Regions from separate parts of the Homo sapiens genome. Here all the other regions are linked to region 4. The links are contacts of gene promoters, found by promoter capture Hi-C in blood cells and fetal thymus (Javierre and others, 2016). All regions are on one chromosome and are shown on one strand. The core of a region is centred on a gene start or on the middle of the fragment in contact, and the rest is flanking DNA. Distances in the headings are between cores, read along the strand shown.

Region 1 (2,700 bases), core at 167-2,666, 910 kb after region 4:
AAACTGTGATTTTCTCCCTTATTCCTCAACAACCACCTAGCCACGACCTTCTTTAACTCTTCCCCCAACCCCGAAACTTTTGAGGAAATGACTTTTCTTATAATTTGAATGTTAATAAACCGTACCCATTTAGAAACTACAGTTTGATGATTTGGGGCGACTGTATACGTCATGTTGCCGCCGCTCCTATTAAGATATGAAATTGTCCCACCACTGCCCCAAAGTTCCCCCGCTCCTGTGCATTCCATTCTGTCCTGTTCCACTCCTTTCCCAGGCAACTGCTTTGCATCGCCACTGTTGCTTCTTCTAGAATGTCCTATAAATGGACATCAGACCGACTATGGCTTTTTGGGTTCTTCCCCCCACAGCATCGTGTTTTTCAGCTCCACCCACGTGGTTTTGGGTATTAATCCTATGGTAGAACTAGCTAGATGCTGGAGAACTCATTATGCGCCGGTAGGTAATTTTAACCTGCATCGTCTCATCTCTATTCTGTCACAATAGAGGAAACTGAGGCACGCCCGGCGTGTGGGCGTGTGAGGGGGCACCGGGCCGACTTCCGCCCGTCAGTAGGCCTGGACCTGCTGGCACCCGCTGTCAAGATAGGGCCTGGCGTCGCGGCGAGGCATCAGCTCGGGCAGAAGCACAGCCCAGGAAGTGGGCGCGTCGCAAGCTCCACACCCAACCAAACCCGGGCAGAGGGCTCGGTGGGCGCGAGGCCGAGGGCCCAAGAGGCCGGGGCCGCTACCCCCTCGCCCCTGGGACGGCCTCCGGGTCTCCTTGCTCCAGCAGACAGGCCCGCGGCGGCTACTCCGAGGCGCAGGGGCAAGGCCGCAGCGGGCAGCGGAGGCCGAAACAGAGAACACACACAACGCGGACCGACAGCAGTCACCGCAGGGGTCGCCGGGGCGCGGCTCTATAAAGCCTCGGCTCTATAAAGCCGCGCTAAGCCGCATCGCGCTGCACGTTTCCTTCCGCGCGGGGCCGGCGCTACTTCCCGCCTTACCAGGCCGCCGTGCCGGGAGGAGCTGAGACGTCTGCAAGGCCGCAACATCTCGCAGCAGCTTTTCGCCTGCTTCCTCCGCTCGCTCTAGAGGGCACAGCAAGGTGCGGGGCTCAACCTGCCGCTTCCCCAAGACGGAGGTGGCCGCCACGCTCCCGCCCGCTGTAAACGTCCGAGCGGGAAGAGCGGCCTCTGGTTTCTGTGGTATCGGCTTCTGGTTTCTGTGGTATCCGGAGACTTCGTTTCCCGGCGCGAGGGAAACAAAGATGCTGGCGTGGAGCGGCCTGCCCGCCGCTATTGTCTGGCTGCCTGACAGGGAGCGGCCGCTTTCGCTTTCTTCTGCCGAATGGAACGTGGTGACTCGGGAGCCGCGGAGCGCCTTTCGAGGCAGCTTTGTCTGCGGAAAGGGAGCGCTGCGGACGGCCTGTCGGAATGGTCACCGCCCGCTTTCCGCGGGAGGCGCGCCGGGCACCGCTGGGCGATTTCTCCGCCTCAGCGAAAGAAAGGAGAAGCCGGCATTTGTGGCCGCCCAGTCTTCGTTCCGATTTGAGCCCTGGCGTCGGCGGGAGGTGACAGTGCTGTCCGCGCGCACCCCCTCCGTCGCCGTCAGGGTCGTGCTCCTTAGGTTTCCTGCGGTTTTTCTGCTGCTCTGAGACGGTCTCTGGGACCAAGTTCTCACAGCATCGTCTTCTCCTCTCGCAAATAATCTTTTTATGATGTTTGTTCTGCTGAATCCACCGGACGCCTCAGACACGGGCCCTGACGGCATCGCCGGCCTGGGGGAGGCGTGGAGAGAGGGGAGGAAGGCGGGAGGGCTGTGGGGCTGCTAGCTGATTTGGGGATCCCATCATCTTCGAATTTTTATGCAGAGCCCATGGAAGCGCCTGGTCAGAGAAGCGGGAGGAAACCGAACCTAAGAAAGGGGCTTGGAGTCAGCAGTGAAGAATCTATTGTTTATTTTAGTTTTGTTTTTAGATTCAGGAGGTAGAAGTGCAGCTTTGTTGCTTCCAGGTATTGCAGAGTGGTGAAGTCTGGGCTTTCAGTGCTGCCCCCACCCAAATAGTGTCCTTTGGACCCATTAGGTAATTTCTCATCCCTCAGAGTGACTACTATTTAAAAGGCAGCTATTGTTAGAGCTGGCAAGCTGCAAGGGCAAAACAAAACAAAACAAAAAACAAAACAGGGTTGGGGGGAGCATAGAATATTTTTTTTTTTTGACAGCAGCGTAGTAAAGTTTGGATTTAGAGCTTTTTGTTACTGCCCATCTCCCATACTCCTGTTTTATTTCTCTTTGTAGCATTTATAACCTCCTGGTATGATAACGCATTTTACACGTTTATTGGCTTCTCTGCCCACTTGATTTTTATCTCCTTTTGGAGAGCAGGGAATTTTTTGTTCCCTGGAGCCTAGCAGGGTACCTAGCAGTGTTCTGGGGGCTTTGTAAATACTTGCTGAATCAGTGGAAAAAAAAGAAACAGGGCACATTATCTAAAGTTATTGTGAGACAAACATAAAACCAAAAGGCGAATGATGCAAGGAGAAGTTATCTCTGAACCTGCTCTTTGTGTTTTGGAGCAGTAATACATTAGGAATAGCTAAGAAGGGGTCACGCCAGCATTCCATTTTCCAAATAAGAAAGTGAAACAAGTGAGCTCTCACTTCTAGGATGCCTTCCACTTCATTAGAGGGATTGGTTC
Region 2 (2,700 bases), core at 33-2,532, 950 kb after region 4:
TCCCCCGCACAACTAACGCAATAGCCTGAGGGGTTTGGTAAACAGAAGCGGCCCCAGGAGGGGGTGGGATTCGCCCCGGGTGTGACCCAAAGGCACCTGCGGCGGCCCAGGCCCTGGGCGAGGCCTGCCGGCCTTGTAAAGGCCTCCGCGTCTGTGCGCGGCAAAGCAGCCCTAACGGTTTCACCGCAGCCCACGTCTCTCCAGTCTGCAGGCCCGGCCTTCCCTGTGCCCGGCTGCGTCCGGGCCGTTCTTCCCCACCGCGCCTGCAGCCCGCTCCCTCCCCAGGGGCTTATCTTGTGCCCCTAAGTGGCTGCGCGCAGCCGAGAAGGGGTGCCCGGCTGCGAGGGGGCCGCTAGCCAGGAACTCTGCGCGCTCTCCCCAGGGTCGTCTGGAGCCCGGGGGTCGTACACTGCTGCAGTTCCTCGTCATCCACCGCCCTCTCTGGAGACGCGATGCCAAAGCTGAGAGCCGGGCGGTGGTGGGGAGCCAGGGTCTCGCCGCGACTCCGGGGACGCCCAGGCTGACGCTGCCTGCGTCCACTGCTCAGGTCTCCCTCAATGTCGGCTCCTCTTCTTGTCCCAGGGGCTTGCGACGCCCCGGGGAGGCCGCTTCTCGTCCAGCAGGCGTGGAGCCGTCAGCAAGGGGAGGCCTTGGGGGAGCCCAGCCGCGTTCAGCCCGAGAAAGCTGGTGGAGACGGCCAGGAGCCCGTCCGGAGGACACACCTGTCGCCGCCTAAGAAGGCCGGGCTCTCCATGCGCAGACCTGGTCGCTCAGACTCGTAAGGCACCACTGTAGGCTGAGAAGCGCTGTCTAATTATGTCTTGCCTGCTTATTTCAGTTCGAGACTTGTGTGCCCGCAAACCGCTGCCCAAGGCAGAGGTGCTGTCTACTTCCTGGGGATTATGATGGTTATTTAAATACATAACTGTCTGTTTACTTGATATATTTCCACTTAAATTACAAGAGGAAAGTTCAAATTGCAAAATAAGGATTCAGGTAAAGCACCCAAAGAAGTTAAATTACCTCTAATTATGTTTCAATTTAGAATGCAGACCCAATTAAAAGAAACTAAGCGTTCCACAACCTGAAATTGCCAGTGATCAGACTGATGGTCACAGAGTTTCATGATTGCTAACCTTCTACTGACATGAGAAACAAGAAATCCACCTGGGCTACTTCAAGACTGTAGCTCTTGTGGGCAGTTTCTGCAGGTCACTCGAGGCAAGATCAACTTTTTTGCTAAATCAAAGTTTCCTGTATAATTAACATAGGCTCAAGGCTCTGGCAGCAAATAGTTAACTGAGGCCCAGAGCTGGGGACAGCCATTTTGGTGGGCAGATGGCAGGTCAGTGCTGCTCTCATAAAACCACTGTGGTTTGCATCTTCGCTTTTCTTCCCCGGCCCAACCCCAAGTCTAGCACTCAGGTCACCTGGGTGGGGAAGGAGCCTGCCTGATGGGCAGAAGTTGGTCGCCTGGGAGGAGGGGGTCATTGAGGGCAGGAGCAGCAAGACAATAGGATGGCAGCAGTGGGCATTTGGGCAGGTATGGGTTTTACTTATTATACCTGCACCCAGCAGCTATTCAGTAAGTATTAAAGGACCCAGAGCTACATGAAGACCACGTGGGGTTGACCTTCTCTAAAGGGCCGTTGAGCTAAGCCACTTCATTTAGAATCAGGCCTCGAGCTTGCATGGAGTAAAATGTGTTCTGTCCCACTTTTCTTTCTGCTCTGGTGTGGGAGGCAGGCAGTGGTGGGAGCCAGGCAGCCACAAAGTCCTCCTGTCCCTTTGGAGCACAAGATGGCATCTGGAAATCAGCTAGTGGGAGTATTTCTTGGAATGTCTTGGAAACTCTTTCATCTCAACCAAGAAGGGTTGCACAAGGCTGGGATAGGCGTTTAAAAATTGTTCTTTGCTAATGACAATCCTGGGTGCTCTCTCTCTCTCTCTCTCTCCCCCCCTGCCCACCCAACTTTGTCTCTCTTCTCTCTCTTACACTCACCCACATATACACACAAATCTGCTGTTTTTGTATTTTATATTACCCTTTTTAGCTTGATAAAGATCAAAGTCACGTACCAAATAGTCTCTTGGAAACCGTACATACAACTCCTGGTCTTCTCTGGCAGTAAAAGTCTGAAAGCTGTTTTTGAATTCTGCTAGCTCAGCCTCACCCTACCCCTCCCCAGATGATGCAATACTAGAACAGGGCCCAGAAAGCTGCTGTGTCTGTCACCAGCTGGCTGAGTCTTGCCTCGAGGTGCCACAGAGAACTGGACCAAACAAGAGCTTTGCTGAGTGATTTTCCCCCAACAGCTGGAGCTGCTGCAGAAATCACAACGAAACACCCTTTGTTGTTATGGGACTTCAGATCTGACAGAATCTTTGCTGGTTCCTTATGACAAATCCTTATTATCTGCGTTTAAAGATGAAGAAACTAAGGCTGAGAGAGGTTAAGCAATTAGGCTTAGGCCACATAGAGAGAATGGGGGTCTTCTGTGTCTGTCTTGGGGCTTTTGCTACCACACCCATCACCATCACCATCACCATGGAGTCAACAGGAGACACTGGGCTATAATCGGTTTTTGGAGAGATGGTTTTGTCCTGGAATTCACATTGCATCTTCCCTGTGTTTTGCTGTGTTTGGCAGGAGGTGCACAAAACACAGCTGTCAGCAGCAGAAGGACCAGTGGGTGCCTG
Region 3 (2,700 bases), core at 61-2,560, 780 kb after region 4:
TAGATTGTCTTTATACTATTTATAGCAATGGACAGATACTTAAAGCTTACTTAGCTAAAGATTTAAGTCTGTTACTTTATGACATATGCTTTCCCCCAACCCCTGTTAACACGGCAGGATGTTTGCAAAATGACTACTCTCCTGTAGTGACTCTTGATTTTAACCTAACAGACTATCATTATGACTCAGTTTGAACATTTGTCATCATAGATGTCATAGTTTCTACAAACAGACAAATATTGATCATAGCAACTTTTAGAAATAGAATAAAACCAAAATGAAATTAAAATTAATTTAAAAGTATTCGTTTGAAAACACTCTTTTAGGTTTCTAGAAGCACTTTAATTATTGGTTAAACTGACTTCTAAACATCTGTATTTTATATTTTTATTTATGTTCATCTTGCTACAAAAATAATTTAAGGCAACTTTCAAAAGTATATAAAAACATATGTAAGAATATTATTTTCCTTCTATTATAATTGACAAGTGCAAAATCAATTTTTTTCCAACATTTCCAGTATACACTGTTGAAAGTTCTTTATAAAGAAGAATGTATATTGCTATTGAAACTTATAAAACAAAATATGTATGTCTTTATTGATACTTTTGGTCTTATAAAACTATTTTTTATTTCAATTCATAAACATTTTAATTATTGTTTAAGCAAAAATAAAAGTTTTCTTATAGATCTATCAACTACTCACCTATATATCACAGCTAGGCCTAATTTAAAATTTTCTTTCATTTTCAAATTCTAAGAAAACCATTTGAAAATTCAGTTTTCTTAGGGCCTTGTTTACCCACATATTTCCATCTACATTGTTATTCTTTAGCAAATTTCTCCTGTTTTTGGTCTGTAATTTATAGAGCACTAAAAGTCAAATAAAAGTTGCCAATTATCTGATTAATTTTGATTTAGAATACTGCTGCTCTAAATGATCCGGCCTATTTCTGTTAGCATTAAAAAAAAAGAAAAAAGAAAAAAAGAAAAGAAAGTTGAGTAATTACGCCAGTAATTCAGGTCCAAGTTTCTAATTACATGGACTAAACTGACTATATAAATACAATTCTCCCTTTCACCTGTTGCTAGTCATTATTTTCTTGGTGTTTTGTTACATTAAAAAGATTTTATAAAACTTGCCTCCCCATCCCCTTTCATAAAATATAGATTAAAATGCTTACACAAAGAAAATTAATTTTGAAAATAACATTTGAGAGAGTTAGAAAAACATTTATGTTTTAACCTTAATAAAACAATGAAACAAAAGTTCAGGGAAAAACTGAGTATATGGGAAGAAACACAGTGGAAAAGTTTAATCTATTTTTTTAGGTGCTTGTTTTCTCAAAACTCTGTAAAACTACTTTCTAAACATTCACCACGGTGTAAAAATCAGCTACGTATAAACAATTCAAAGTATTTTCTGAATAGTTCTAGCTATGTAACAAATGTGAAAAAGCTGAACACAATTATTCTACTAGGATTTTTAAAAATGTAGTTTTTAGACTGACTTATCCATAAAATGGCTTCAAGTCTATATTTAATTTGAAAAGGGGGATAAAATCAGTATTCTGTTGAATATAACAACCATAATAGAAAAGTTAAATTCTTTTTTTTTGAGACAGAGTCTCACTCTGTTGCCAGGCTGGAGTGCAATGGCACGATCTTGGCTCACTCAACCTCCGACTCCCAGGTTCAAGCAATTCTCCTGCCTCAGCCTCCCTAGTAGCTGGATTACAGATGCATGCCACCACGCCTGGCTAATTTTTGTATTTTTGGTAGAGACAGCGTTTCACCATGTTGGCCAGGATGGCCTCGATCTCCTGACCTCATGATCCACCCACCTCGGCCTCCCAAAGTGCTGGGATTACAAGCGTGAGCCACCGCGCCCGGCCCAAAATGTTAAATTCTTAACCAGTATCATTTTAAATATTGTACACAATTAAAAATATTAAAACACTTATCTAGGCTTTCATTGCCATGTAAGCTCTTTTGAAATATTAATTTTGGTTTAAATGCTTACTTTAAATGAGTTAAAAGTACTTTAGCTGTAAAGTCTCCTTAACTGTTTATAATGTATTTAATGCAAATCATCCCTTCTTATATACTAACTTCCATTCTAAAATGCTTCATTTGACAAGTGAATATAGTTACATTTTTCAGTTTATAAGCAATTATACTGTTACTTTGGTTTTAATCTACAAAAACCTTTATTTTTGTTTTCATTTTTGTTTGTAAAATTATAGTTCCTTAAACAAAATATACTTATTTGTACACATTTTAACATGTAAAAAGCATGTTCTCAAAATACAAACTTGAAAAAGTTACTGGCTTTCAACAATAATATCCCACAGCATAGGCCCATTTGTTCCATTTTTTGCTGGAATTCGTGAAACCAACCCAAACTCCAATTTCTAAGGTATGAAAAAACACAGAGATTCCAAATCCAGACCTAAAAAACGAAGAGACTCTGTTAGACATTCTCTGCTGTTGTAGTCTAAATGTAGGACATCTTGAAACTGATTAGATTCTGGACAAAACAGATGATCTTTCAGTCTTTTCCAAGCCTTACTAATGAAGCTTAGTTGAATTCATTGTAGCTAAAAGAATCTTGGATTGTGTCACAGAAAATAAACACTAAATAAGCTTTCTGTGACACTTCTCAGGTCCTTTCTCTCTTCCTTCCTCTTCCTCTTTCCC
Region 4 (2,700 bases), core at 4-2,503:
TGGTGCAAAAACACAATGGTAAAAAATTTCGGGGTATTTGTAAGTTTTCTGGAGAGTTGCAGGCCCCTTTCCTTTTGAAAGTTTAGAGCTCCAATACCCTCAATTCTACTGGCAGAATTAGGATGGACTTAGAGGGTCCTAAACGTGACCGATTCACTAAGGCGGGGGGGGGGGGGGGCTACAGCTTGCAGCAACGTGCTCTGCAACTTAATCCTACGCTAAAAGAGGGCAGAGAGCGAAAAAGAATGGAATACAAACTCTCCCGACATCCGTAGTTACTTTCAAGGTGGATTGTGTATTTTAAGGCTGATGGGAACGTCTGGTTTGTGGAGCAAAAAGAAGAGAAGGTAAGTGTTTGTCCTTGTATCCACCAGTTCGTAGAGAAACAATGAAAGAACAAAGGGAACCACTTCCCCATCTGAACATTTTCTGTATCTCCCTCCGTTTCAAGCCAAAAAGCTTGGGAAGGGATTCGCTTTACTCTACCTTAAGTAGTGGTTGCTGGCTTGTTGAACTAAGAATGAGAAAAAAGTTGAGAGGCAGATATAGACTAAATAATAATAAAAAAGGCTTGCTGTGGCGGATCTCCACCGCGCCAGTGTCAGCAACTTGCAGCAGAAGTTGCTCAATGCACGGAGGCAAAGCCCAAGAAATACCCTTTGCACACCAGATTTCGAACTCAGTCATTTAAATAGACTTTCTTGCTGTTTGAAGGGGTTTCTGCGCACAAAATGTGTAGGTAGTGGCTATGGGAGAGATGTACTATTTAGGTCGAAAAATGATCTCATGGCTATCTGGAAAAGAATTTTTAAAAAGGAAAGGGGATTCAAGTATCACGTTACTGTTTGCTAATAGAAGAAATGGCAGCACTGGCTGGGAAAGGAGAGGGATTCGTATTGAAATGCATTTGCTTTGGGGTACGCTGGTTATCCGCAAGTCTGGCTTTGTGGGTCTGCGTGGCTGAATAAGTGACCAAGTGCCTTCGGCATTATATAAACGGATCGATGTGTGCGGGAGTCCCCAAAGCCGTCGAGCACGTGAAACGCGACTTTTTACTGCCCTCCAAGCGGCGACCAAGCCCCGCTCCACCCCACCCCGCCTCAAAATCCGTATATTACCTGCCCTGTTACAGTGACACATGTTTATGTTTATAGTCCTGGTTTGTAGTAGTGTCAAGAACCGCAGCAAGAGGAAGGGGAGGAGAGAGGAGAGGGAGGAGTAAATTCAACCACCCCCACTTGTTGTTAAAGCAAATTTACTGCGTTATTGCAAGCTCAGGACGGGGGGCTGGGATGAGAGTTGAGAGGAAGGGTTGAGTTGGGAAGTGTGTTGGCGGTGGAAGGTGGGGGTGGGGTTAAGAGCTCCGCAATGGAGCTCCTCTCCCCAGCAGCCCAGGAAAAGCAGCTCGGTCAATAGGGGAGCATGCTGGCGCGGTCGAAAACAAAAAGGTTCCTCCTGCTCGCTGCGTTCACGTGGGGGGCTCTGCACGCGGGGCTCCAGGGCCGTGACCCCTGACCCCGGCTCCTCTCCGCGCTCTCCGGTGCCGCGCGGCCACTTTTTACCCAGGATCCCTCGCGCGGGCCGCGCTCGTGCCGAGCTGGAGTCCTTCCTAATCCTCCATTCCCGGCTCTCGCTCCCCGCCCCCGCCGCCAGCCCCGGGGGAGGATTCTCCGGCGGGGAACCCCCGCCCCACCCCCACCCCGACTGCCCCGGCGGAGTCGGCCGCAGCGAGTCCGCGCGGGGCGGGGAGGGCCGGGCCGGGCCTCCCCTACCGCGCCGGGCCTGCGAGGGAGGGGAGGGACGGGGAGCCGAGGGGAGGGGGCGCCGGCCTCCCGGCTCAGCTGCCCCACTGAGGCCTGGACCTGTTGACTGCGATTGGCCCGCCTCATCCCGCGCCCTCTCTCTGCTCGCAGCGGCCCCAGCCCTTCCGCGGCGTCGCGGGGAGGAAATGGGGATGGCTGTCCTCCTCTCCGCCTCCTTCTAACTTTCCTTTTTTTATTTGGGTGTGTTGGGGGGGGTGCTGAGAAAGCCCAGGCAACTCCACCGCCGCCCCATCCTGCCTCCGAAAGTCTCGTCACGCCCGACCCGCCGCCGCCCTCCCAGCCCCCATGACTTAAAACCGCCTCCCCTCCTCGCAGCGGCGCCCCGGCCCGGAGCCCGAGAGCCCTCGACGCCCCCGCCGCGCCTCCCCCGCCTGGCCTGGCCCAGCGGCGTCCCCAGCGAATTGTGTCGCTTTTCTGCCCTGGAAGCTCCCTCGGCCACGTTCCACTTTTTTTCCCAGTCCCAGGAGGCGTAAGATAAAACCTCTGATTTGCTGCGTGCTGCCGGGCACATTCTCTGCCCTCTCGTCCGAAGGACGAGTTTAAAATGGAGAGTTTAAAATAATAGCATTTACAGGAGGAAATAAAGAGCGAGGAGATGGTTCTTTGGCCGGTTTTAAGACATACATGCTTTTTTTTTCTTTTAATACAAGATGTCTTAAGGGTTAAAAGCGTTCTAGGGTTTGCTGTATTTCCTTCTAGATTTGGGGTTTCCTGAGGAAATCTTTTCCGGAGGGAAATAGCAAATCAACATTAAGATGGAAGCGAGACTTCTCAGCCACTTTTGGAAATGAAGGGGGAAATTGTAAAAATACATTCAGAAAAGGGCGCGAAGGCGGCGGCTGAGGGGAAGAAGCTGGAGTCTTGGGAGGAAGCGCAG
Region 5 (2,700 bases), core at 24-2,523, 830 kb after region 4:
CATTTTGCTTTTATTTTAACTAAAATTTACCTGAAAAGAGAGAAAATTGCACATTAATTTCCACAGCTGGTTTATTCATTATTCTATTCACATTTATTGAGTGTCCAAGTATCAGATGGATGTTTAGATGCGGACCATGCAAAAATCGGAGGCATAGTCCCTGTGCTTAAGTGGCTTATTTGCTAATGGAAAGACATATAAATAAATTATTGTTTATTCGAAGGGCACCTTACTCAAGATTTGGGAATGAGGGATATCGTTCAAGGGAGACATCTAGGAGGAGGTATATAATCACACAGATACTGTGCTGAATTTCCTAGGAGTTAGCCAGATAAAATGGCATTCAGGTAGAGGGAACGTTATGTGTAAAGGCACAAAGACAAGAGAAAAGGTGGTACTCATGGAAAAGGCCAATGTTTAGTTATGACTGGAGCTCAGGGTAATAGGGCAAGGAGAGGAGAGTCAGTCATGGTTGGAGAAGAAACAAGTCTAATTATGAAGGGCCTCGTATGAAGTTTAGATTTCTCCTGGAATTGATGGAAAGCCATTGAAGTGTTTTAATTGGAAGAGTCATGGGATCCACTTTGTGTTTTAGAAAGGCAATTTTAGCAGTCTTTTGGAGAGTAGATAAGAGGGGATTAAATCAGGATCAGGAGACTGGGTGCTCATTTTTGCTATAGCAGTCATGTTTGATAAGAAATGTTAAAGGGGTAACATCTGCAGGACTTGGTGACTTAGGAGTAGGGGTTGGGGCAGGTAAGGCGAGAGATGACTTCAAGATGCCTCCTGGACTTCTGGTTGCTTGGACACATTAGCACCATTCATCTGTAGAGAAAGGATGCAAAGAGCAGAGAGAAATTGTGATTTTACTCTTCAGTGGTTGAAGCGTGTCTGAGATATCCATGCGTCAGTGACTGTGGTGATGTAGAGTGCTAGGGCTCAGGAGACAGATAGCTGGAAAGAAAGATTTGGATATGTGGAACTAACATGTTAATTTGAAAACTATATTAAAAGCCCATTTTATATTTCCTCATGTAATTGTAAATATGTTAAGTTCCAATCATTTTATCTGGAGTATAATGCAAATCCAACTTCGCATAGCTTTCATGTTCTACATTCTCACTCAGTTGAGAATCTCACAGACAGATGGTGGTGGCTGGGACCTAATCAAGGGACAGCTGGCTAGGCACGGTGGCTCACGCCTGTAACCCAGCATTTTGGGAGGCTGAGTTGGGTGGAACACCTGAAGTTAGGAGTTCGAGACCAGCCTGGCCAACATGGTAAACCCCATCTCTACTAAAAATACAAAAATTAGCCAGGTGTGGTGGCAGGCGCCTGTAATCCCAGCTACTCGGGAGGCTGAGGCATCCGGGAAGCGGAGGTTGCTGTGAGTTGAGATCACGCCACTGCACTCCAGCCTGGGCAACAGAACGAGACTCCGTCTCAAAAAAAAAAAAAAAGAGTCAGACAGTTGCACTAGAAAAATGAATTAAATTTTGGTTTCATACAGTAACAATGGAAGACAGTTATGATTAATGCTAATGGTAGAAATAATGTGAATTCAACAGACTATATACCCTTTGGTATACATTCCAAACCTGGCACATAGGCCAGTTTTTCTTGGCAAATGGGCTGTAATAGACAGTAGGGAGGAGAAACCGGAGAGCATAGACGCGAGCCATGAAGAGCATCTACCTCATTGGATTGTAATGAGGGTTACATGGGTTACTATTTGTAAATTTCTTAGAGAGGTACCTGGCACATGGGAAATGCTATATAAGTGTTTGCTAAATAAGTGAATGAATTTATGATGTGCTGGTCCCCATCCCACCTTCCTCTCAGCCCTTCCACTAAAAAATGATATATCAGATATGGTAGTCCTTTACTCACAAACAACTGAATCAACACTGAATCACCAAACAAAACTTGGAAGATACTATAGCTAATGAGAATAAATTTCAAAGGAGAAAACAGATTATTCTTGCTCATAATAGTTTCTTGAATTATTTACTATTACAATTGAATTCTATGTAAAAAGGCCATACTTTTTGTGATTCAATCTGACACTTTAGATAAATTACAAGACTTTTTGTGTGTTATAAGGGATAACACCCTAAATCACAATTGACTTTATGTCTGAAAAAGTATTTCAAGAAAACAAGGCAAACAGATATGTGATACCAAAATTTGTAATTTCTTAATCAAATGCAGGAACAATGGCCAGAGGTATATAATCAATAAAGGCTGGGAGAAACCAAATCAAGGCCTGAAAATTCTTATTCTAAAAAAAGGCAGGGGAGGAACACAAATAATTTTAAATAAAAAATGACCAGTGAAGGAAATGAGAACATGTTATACAATTCATCAGTGTTGTGAAACTTGGTTCAGTAAAAATCATCATATAAATATCATAATTTGTTACAGAAATATTAAAAAATCTATTAGAGTAAGGATGATAAGTATAATTAGACTTACACTGTAACAGGAGAATATGTAATGGTTGTAGTATTAAAATCAAAGTGGATGGTAGTTTCTAGGTCCATTAGCACAAGTGTTGGGCTAGCTGTATATTGAGAACAAATTACAAATTACCTATGCTAGGTCACTTGAAGAATAGAAAAGAAGTTTAAAACAAGCTCTGGCCTAGAGAGGTTTATTATTTTACTGAGGATATAAGACATTTATTCACACAAACTAGAG
Region 6 (2,700 bases), core at 188-2,687, 930 kb after region 4:
TGTAATACAAAAGATGAGGGAATGATCCTTCCTTCCTGAATTCATTCCCTCTAACTCACAGTTTATTTCATAGACATGTAGAATTCTGAGTCTTTTCTAAAACTAGTTCTTAAATGATTGGCTTTTACAGGGGTATTCAATAGCTATTGAATTGATGGCACTAGACTGGTTATTTTTATCTTTTTTTTTTTTTTTATTTTTAGAGACAGGATGTTGTTCTGTCACTCAGGCTGGAGTGCAGTGATGCAATCATAGATCACTGCGGCCTTGAACTCCTGGGCTCAAGGAATCCACCTGCTTCAGCCTTCTATGTAGCTAGAACTACAGGTATCCACCACCAACCTCAGCCCTGGGTTCTACTGGATGTGCCGGCCAGGGGCCACCTCTACTTCTGCTGGGGCCTCCCAATGCTGGCCCTCCACAGGTGGCCTCCGGAAACAACCCTCAGAAAGAAGGATGGTTCCACTCATACCAGAACCTTTTTTGTCATCTTTGCATTTTATACAGGCAGTCAGACCTCAGGCGTGTGCTCCATCAGAGGCCTGACCTCTCCTCAGTGGCTGTGATTATTGCCTGGAGAACCAGCCAGATTTTACGTAAATTTCAAACAAATCTTTTAAGAGTAGGGTCCTATCCTGGAGGCAGCTGGAGGGAGAAAAAGATCCCTCTTAGAACTCGGCCTTTGAAGTGAATTCCTTCAGCAATCTTGCTCTGAGCTTTTCCTGAATACAGCTGTAAATTGATTTGGGGTTTTTCCTAATGGGCTGAAAAACATAGCTTTCCTGTGTTGGGTGGTTCAGTGAAGCCACTATTTTACAACCACCCGGAGTTCCTTGAAAAGCCACCCTCCATGAGATCATTACAGATACATCCTGAGCTCAATAAAAAAGAAGTTGAGCCTGTGTTTCTATTGGTAGACTAGGCGGGTTCGCGGATACTTGGACACTGATTTGGGCATAGATTTGTGCTTACGCCATATAAACAGATTAATCTGGTATCTAAGCCATATAGATACTGGATTTCACTCTCCATCCATGTCTATAGGTATACTTTATTAGCTTGTTAATGCCTTTCTTTCAGAGAACAATTTATTTAGCCTTTAGAGAAGACAGTGATTTTAAAAAATGTAGCTTTATTAAAGAACCGTAGCCTAATCTAAAATGGTTTCACTGGTCTGCACATACCACAGGTTTACTGCGGTATAAAATACCAAATTCTCTTTATGTGTTCCCTAAATTACTTTATAACTTTATCTTTTGCCCTAATAATACTTGTCACAAAATATGGAGACCTACTCAATTTTACTAGTCATTGAAGGAATGTAAACTGAAACTAGAAGATAATGATTTTTTCACCCATCAAATAGTCAAGGAAATGGATATTGTCACTTCTGGCTGGTGTGACATCTAGGAACATATCCTGACACAGAATTATTCTTAAATAGGAAGAAGGGTATTAAGTACAAAATTACTTGCATTACTCTATAATAATCAAAATTATTCAACAAAGTCTAAATATCTGATTATAAGGGAATGGTTGAATGACTTACCATTTTGTAACTAACAGTGGCTCTGATGAACACATTGAAAAGGTTTCTGATATACAGCTAGGAGAAGAGCAGGACATGACACAGGGTACAGACTACAACAGCAACTATAGTATTTTTTTTTAATGTGCGTATAAAATGTGTTTCTAGTGACAGCCCCACTCCCTCCTTCAGTGGCTGTTCAGTGCCTTAAGACATCTGAGGCAATTCCCAGCTGTGCCCCCTCCACGTCTGCACTGCTCTGCTTCTATCAGGCTGGCCTGCTCTCCAGTGCATCCTGCCTCTGGCCTTTGAACTGCTGCTTTCCTGCCCTGATGATGCTTCTCTCCTCTTCAACCTCCTCATCTCAGGTTTTTTTATTTTTTGAAGACAGGGTCTGGCTCTGTCACCCAGGCTGGAGTGCAGTGGCACAATCACAGCTCACTGCAGCCTTGCACTCCTGGGATCAAGCGATAACCCCACACCGCAGCCTCCTGAGTAGCTGGGACTACAGGAGCATGCCACCATGCCCAGCAATATTTTTTTGTTTTTTATAGAGACAGGGCCTTGCTATGTTGCCCAGGCTGATCTCAAAATCCTGGGCTCAACCTATCCTCCTGCCTCAGCCTCCCAAAGTGCTGGGATTATAAGTGTGAGCCACCATGCCCAGAAAACAACAACAATAACTTTCATTGTATCTTTATTTTTTTTTTCTATGATTACTCTGAAAACACTGTTTGATGAGCCTTAGAAATCAATACCACTTTAAAACTACAGAAGAGTGGGTAGTCTGGAGAGACTATTTCACAATTGGGCCAAGGTGATGACTATTGTCAATTTTGTGCTCTTAGGCCTCATTAGTCTCATTCTGAGGATGCTTTATTCTTCCCTGAATTGATCGTATTAATAAATAAAGCATGTGGAGGGAGGAATCTCTCCTAAAAGAGGAGATCACTCATCCTTGAAAGTATATAGGATTTTTTTTTAAGTGTCTGCCTGGGGAAAATGCTGTGGCGGCATTAATAGACAACAGCATTTTAATTATGAATCTAATATATTTGTATCACAAAACCTGGCAATTTCAACGATAAAGTACTATGATTACACAAAGCATTTTTAGAAATAATAAACCTCTGCTGAATATGCTTACAAACCACATTAAGATTCCATTTCAG
Region 7 (2,700 bases), core at 199-2,698, 890 kb after region 4:
TTATGAGTTTTTAGGTCAAGCATCTGGGCATAGATAAAGATAACTAACAAAAGGCAAAGCAAGTCTCTAATATTAGGTTTTATCTGGAGAAAATGCCTTCAGAAGCTTAATTATTTTGAGTGTTTTGAGAATTTTTGAATTATACTTCCATAGATTTAAAAAATTATTCTAGAATGCCTGCTAAATTTTATTTGACATTCATTTATCTGCATGTAAGTTATTTCCATGACGTATTAAGCATCTCACAATGCACTGATCAACATATTTAATACTTTTATACTAAATCTTGTATAAAATGTTCAATTTATGAATGTAAATGTATAGTACTATAGATGCCCAAGAACTATTAATAGTAAAAATGATTAATTTCCTAGGTTTCTATGATACAAGTATTTGTAAATAGTTTTTCAATACTAAATTATATTTTATTAAATAGTTTTTCAATATGAATTATACTTCCAGAAATTTTTGTTTTCCTAGGTGACCAGATCTGATTAAAACCCATGCTGAGAATGATCTCTAAGGCAGTTAGAATGCAGAAGTTGATTAGTAACAATAGACTGTGTAGTCTAACTTATGAAAAAAAAAATCTATTAGCTAGGATCCTTAAAGCAACATTAGCCACTTGATGTGATTAAAATGAAGTCTCTGTAATAAAATATTGTCAGTGGATTGAAGATTCTTGTTTGGAAAATGTCCCCTTTGCCATTACATTTATATCCCTTAAATGTTTTGCTACTTCTGTAGCACAGTTTTATGAATTCGTATTTTCCTCCTGGATAGCCTCTAACTTTATGCACAAAGCATTACTGGAGCATAATTATTCAGAGTGTATTTGAGATTTCACTCACAGGATTATTTCAGATAAATCCCCTATATTGAATCTTATGTGCCTGCTGTGTTGATCGTTTCACCAGCATTTAATAGTGTATTTTCTTTTTCAGGTATTATTCCCCTGGATATTCAGATACACTTCTGCAGAGGGTGGACAGCTATCAACCACTTAATAACTGAGCAAAGTTATATTGTGATACTCAAATTCACAGCAGAGTAGTTTTGAGTAACAGTAATTAAATCCTTCTAAATATTTGAACTAAGTATATTCTAGATTTATTTAATGGGAAATACCTTTAGATAATATTTTCTAAATTTATGTAATACTTTAAACATTCGTAGCTTGAATATGTGAGGAACTATTCATGGTCATTCGCATGCATAGGATTTGTTCTACAGGTAGATTTTAAAAACACGTTAAAGGGCCTTAAGGCATTTTGTTATTCTGTTAAAAACCACACACACTCGTACATGCAGACACCTCCAATGAGATATAGTTAAGAGATGGCATTCAAAAACCCTAAATTATTCTAGCCAATTTGTCATAGGCATAGGCAAGGAAAGCTGGCCTTGCTAACTATATAGTAGTATACACAAGAGAAATCTTTGAAGGAGGAAACTGATGACAGATATACAGGGCACTTGAAGGAGACTCTGATGCTAGTTATATAAGTGCATTAACTTAAGACACGGACTCTGTGGGTAACCTGTTAGGTTTTACTAAGAATTTAGGAAAAATTTACTCCTCTTTATCACAAGTTTTCCAAACCTCCTTCCCCACCCTATCTAAAGTGTTCCTTACCTTTCATGGGCCCAGCGAGGGTAGAATTCAGAATAGAGAGTTATACTCCTGCATACATGCTCTCCCTCTCATTGAAAGGTTTCTTAGTCTAGCTCTGCTCATGAATGAACAAAGAAGCAGGCATGTAAAATGGATCCTTGTCCTAACGTCACTTTCCCAAGTTTCAAAAGTCACATTTTCAGGTATTTAAGGAATAGTTTGAAGCTAATACCATCAGGCTCAGAGTTTACATGCATTTTTACTTAGGAAGTGGTAAACGGGTGAAAGAGGGTTTCAATAAAATTTTAAATAAAAACAGCATTAGAATTGTCCTTTTCATTTTTCCTATCCAGTGTGTTGCTGACCTTGGGGAATATGTGATTGGATTTATGGGTCTTGGTTAGTTGCTGTGTATGTGTCTTTTGCTTTAAAGGGATGTTACTTCTGCTGCTCTCTCCTGGAGGAGGTGAATGATAACCCACACAGCCCCTAGGCCACAGTGTTTCCAGTCTGACTCTGTTTTCAGGTTTCCTTCTTTGACTCTCTCTCTCTTTTTTTATTTTTTTCATGCAAAAGGAGCTACCCGTTTGTTTTTTGTATTTTCTGGATTCATCTCTGTCATCATTATTTCCTAACAGTGCATAACTTTGTTGTGTCTTTTAAAACTTCATAATACCCGAGATTACCTCATTTTGTTTTGCCTTATATCCGGCTAAGATTGTTGGTTATTTCATTTTTTTTTAATACTTCCTTGGGCCTGTTTTGTTTCCTTGCAGCAATTTCTTTGACCTGTTGAATAGGAAAATGTAATTTGTATTCCCAGTTTTGTAGCTTTCCTTTCTTTCTTTCATGCCTACACAGCTTGTCTTATGAATCTTTTAATTGGAGAAAATAAAAGTAGTTTTTATCTTTCTTCATTAGGGCTGTTTTTCTTAGATGTGTTGGTAATGACAGAAATTAGTTTATCTGGGTTAAAACCACCTCAGATATTGTTGGAATGTCAAATTTCCTAGTTGAAAATTTTCACTTCATAGATAATTTCATACTTATCAAACAGCACTAAACAAAGTAATAAAATACTTAAT

What was found. The method cuts DNA at HindIII sites, captures the fragments that hold promoters and counts their contacts. A CHiCAGO score of 5 or more calls a contact.
Region 1: a contact is called between a fragment that was not itself captured here and the fragment with the promoter of SKIDA1 in region 4, in 8 of 17 cell types (total B cells, naive CD8 T cells, M2 macrophages and 5 more). The highest score is 10.6, in total B cells.
Region 2: a contact is called between a fragment that was not itself captured here and the fragment with the promoter of SKIDA1 in region 4, in 2 of 17 cell types (total B cells and naive B cells). The highest score is 17.4, in total B cells.
Region 3: a contact is called between a fragment that was not itself captured here and the fragment with the promoter of SKIDA1 in region 4, in 6 of 17 cell types (total B cells, naive B cells, activated CD4 T cells and 3 more). The highest score is 20.8, in total B cells.
Region 5: a contact is called between a fragment that was not itself captured here and the fragment with the promoter of SKIDA1 in region 4, in 2 of 17 cell types (total B cells and naive B cells). The highest score is 15.8, in total B cells.
Region 6: a contact is called between a fragment that was not itself captured here and the fragment with the promoter of SKIDA1 in region 4, in 2 of 17 cell types (naive B cells and total B cells). The highest score is 5.9, in naive B cells.
Region 7: a fragment that was not itself captured here is called in contact with the fragment with the promoter of SKIDA1 in region 4 in 3 of 17 cell types (naive B cells, total B cells and non-activated CD4 T cells); the score reaches 7.3 in naive B cells.

The regions. Positions count from the first base shown.
Region 1 is chr10:22,436,045-22,438,744 of GRCh38, forward strand. It overlaps LINC03027 (long intergenic non-protein coding RNA 3027), which reads right to left and starts at 1,885. Exons shown (of 1, transcript NR_036533.1): 1 at 1-1,885. It overlaps LOC105376449 (a long non-coding RNA gene), which reads left to right and starts at 1,031. Exons shown (of 4, transcript XR_001747392.2): 1 at 1,031-1,107. RefSeq lists a silencer at 633-812 and enhancers at 1,283-1,332, 1,299-1,799, 1,633-1,792, 1,800-2,300. The HindIII fragment of the contact is 6,642 bases long and covers 1-2,700 here.
Region 2 is chr10:22,477,343-22,480,042 of GRCh38, forward strand. It overlaps LOC124902392, which reads right to left and starts at 956. Exons shown (of 1, transcript XM_047426112.1): 1 at 1-956. RefSeq lists an enhancer at 1-205. The HindIII fragment of the contact is 4,700 bases long and covers 1-2,700 here.
Region 3 is chr10:22,308,436-22,311,135 of GRCh38, forward strand. No RefSeq gene overlaps it. Among named protein-coding and RNA genes, the nearest start is that of COMMD3, 6.6 kb to the right of the region's middle. The HindIII fragment of the contact is 2,535 bases long and covers 44-2,578 here.
Region 4 is chr10:21,524,429-21,527,128 of GRCh38, forward strand. SKIDA1 (SKI/DACH domain containing 1) reads right to left here and starts at 1,254. Exons shown (of 4, transcript NM_207371.4): 1 at 1,119-1,254. RefSeq lists enhancers at 646-1,289, 1,290-1,933 and silencers at 1,589-2,008, 2,129-2,278. The HindIII fragment of the contact is 4,259 bases long and covers 458-2,700 here.
Region 5 is chr10:22,353,549-22,356,248 of GRCh38, forward strand. All of the region lies in intron 2 of SPAG6 (sperm associated antigen 6), which reads left to right. Among named protein-coding and RNA genes, the nearest start is that of SPAG6, 9.4 kb to the left of the region's middle. The HindIII fragment of the contact is 9,048 bases long and covers 1-2,700 here.
Region 6 is chr10:22,454,933-22,457,632 of GRCh38, forward strand. The region is part of intron 3 of LOC105376449 (a long non-coding RNA gene); the gene reads left to right. Among named protein-coding and RNA genes, the nearest start is that of LINC03027, 18 kb to the left of the region's middle. The HindIII fragment of the contact is 3,141 bases long and covers 1-2,700 here.
Region 7 is chr10:22,415,675-22,418,374 of GRCh38, forward strand. It overlaps SPAG6 (sperm associated antigen 6), which reads left to right. Exons shown (of 11, transcript NM_012443.4): 11 at 945-1,936. The coding sequence ends at 1,014. Among named protein-coding and RNA genes, the nearest start is that of LINC03027, 21 kb to the right of the region's middle. The HindIII fragment of the contact is 2,691 bases long and covers 104-2,700 here.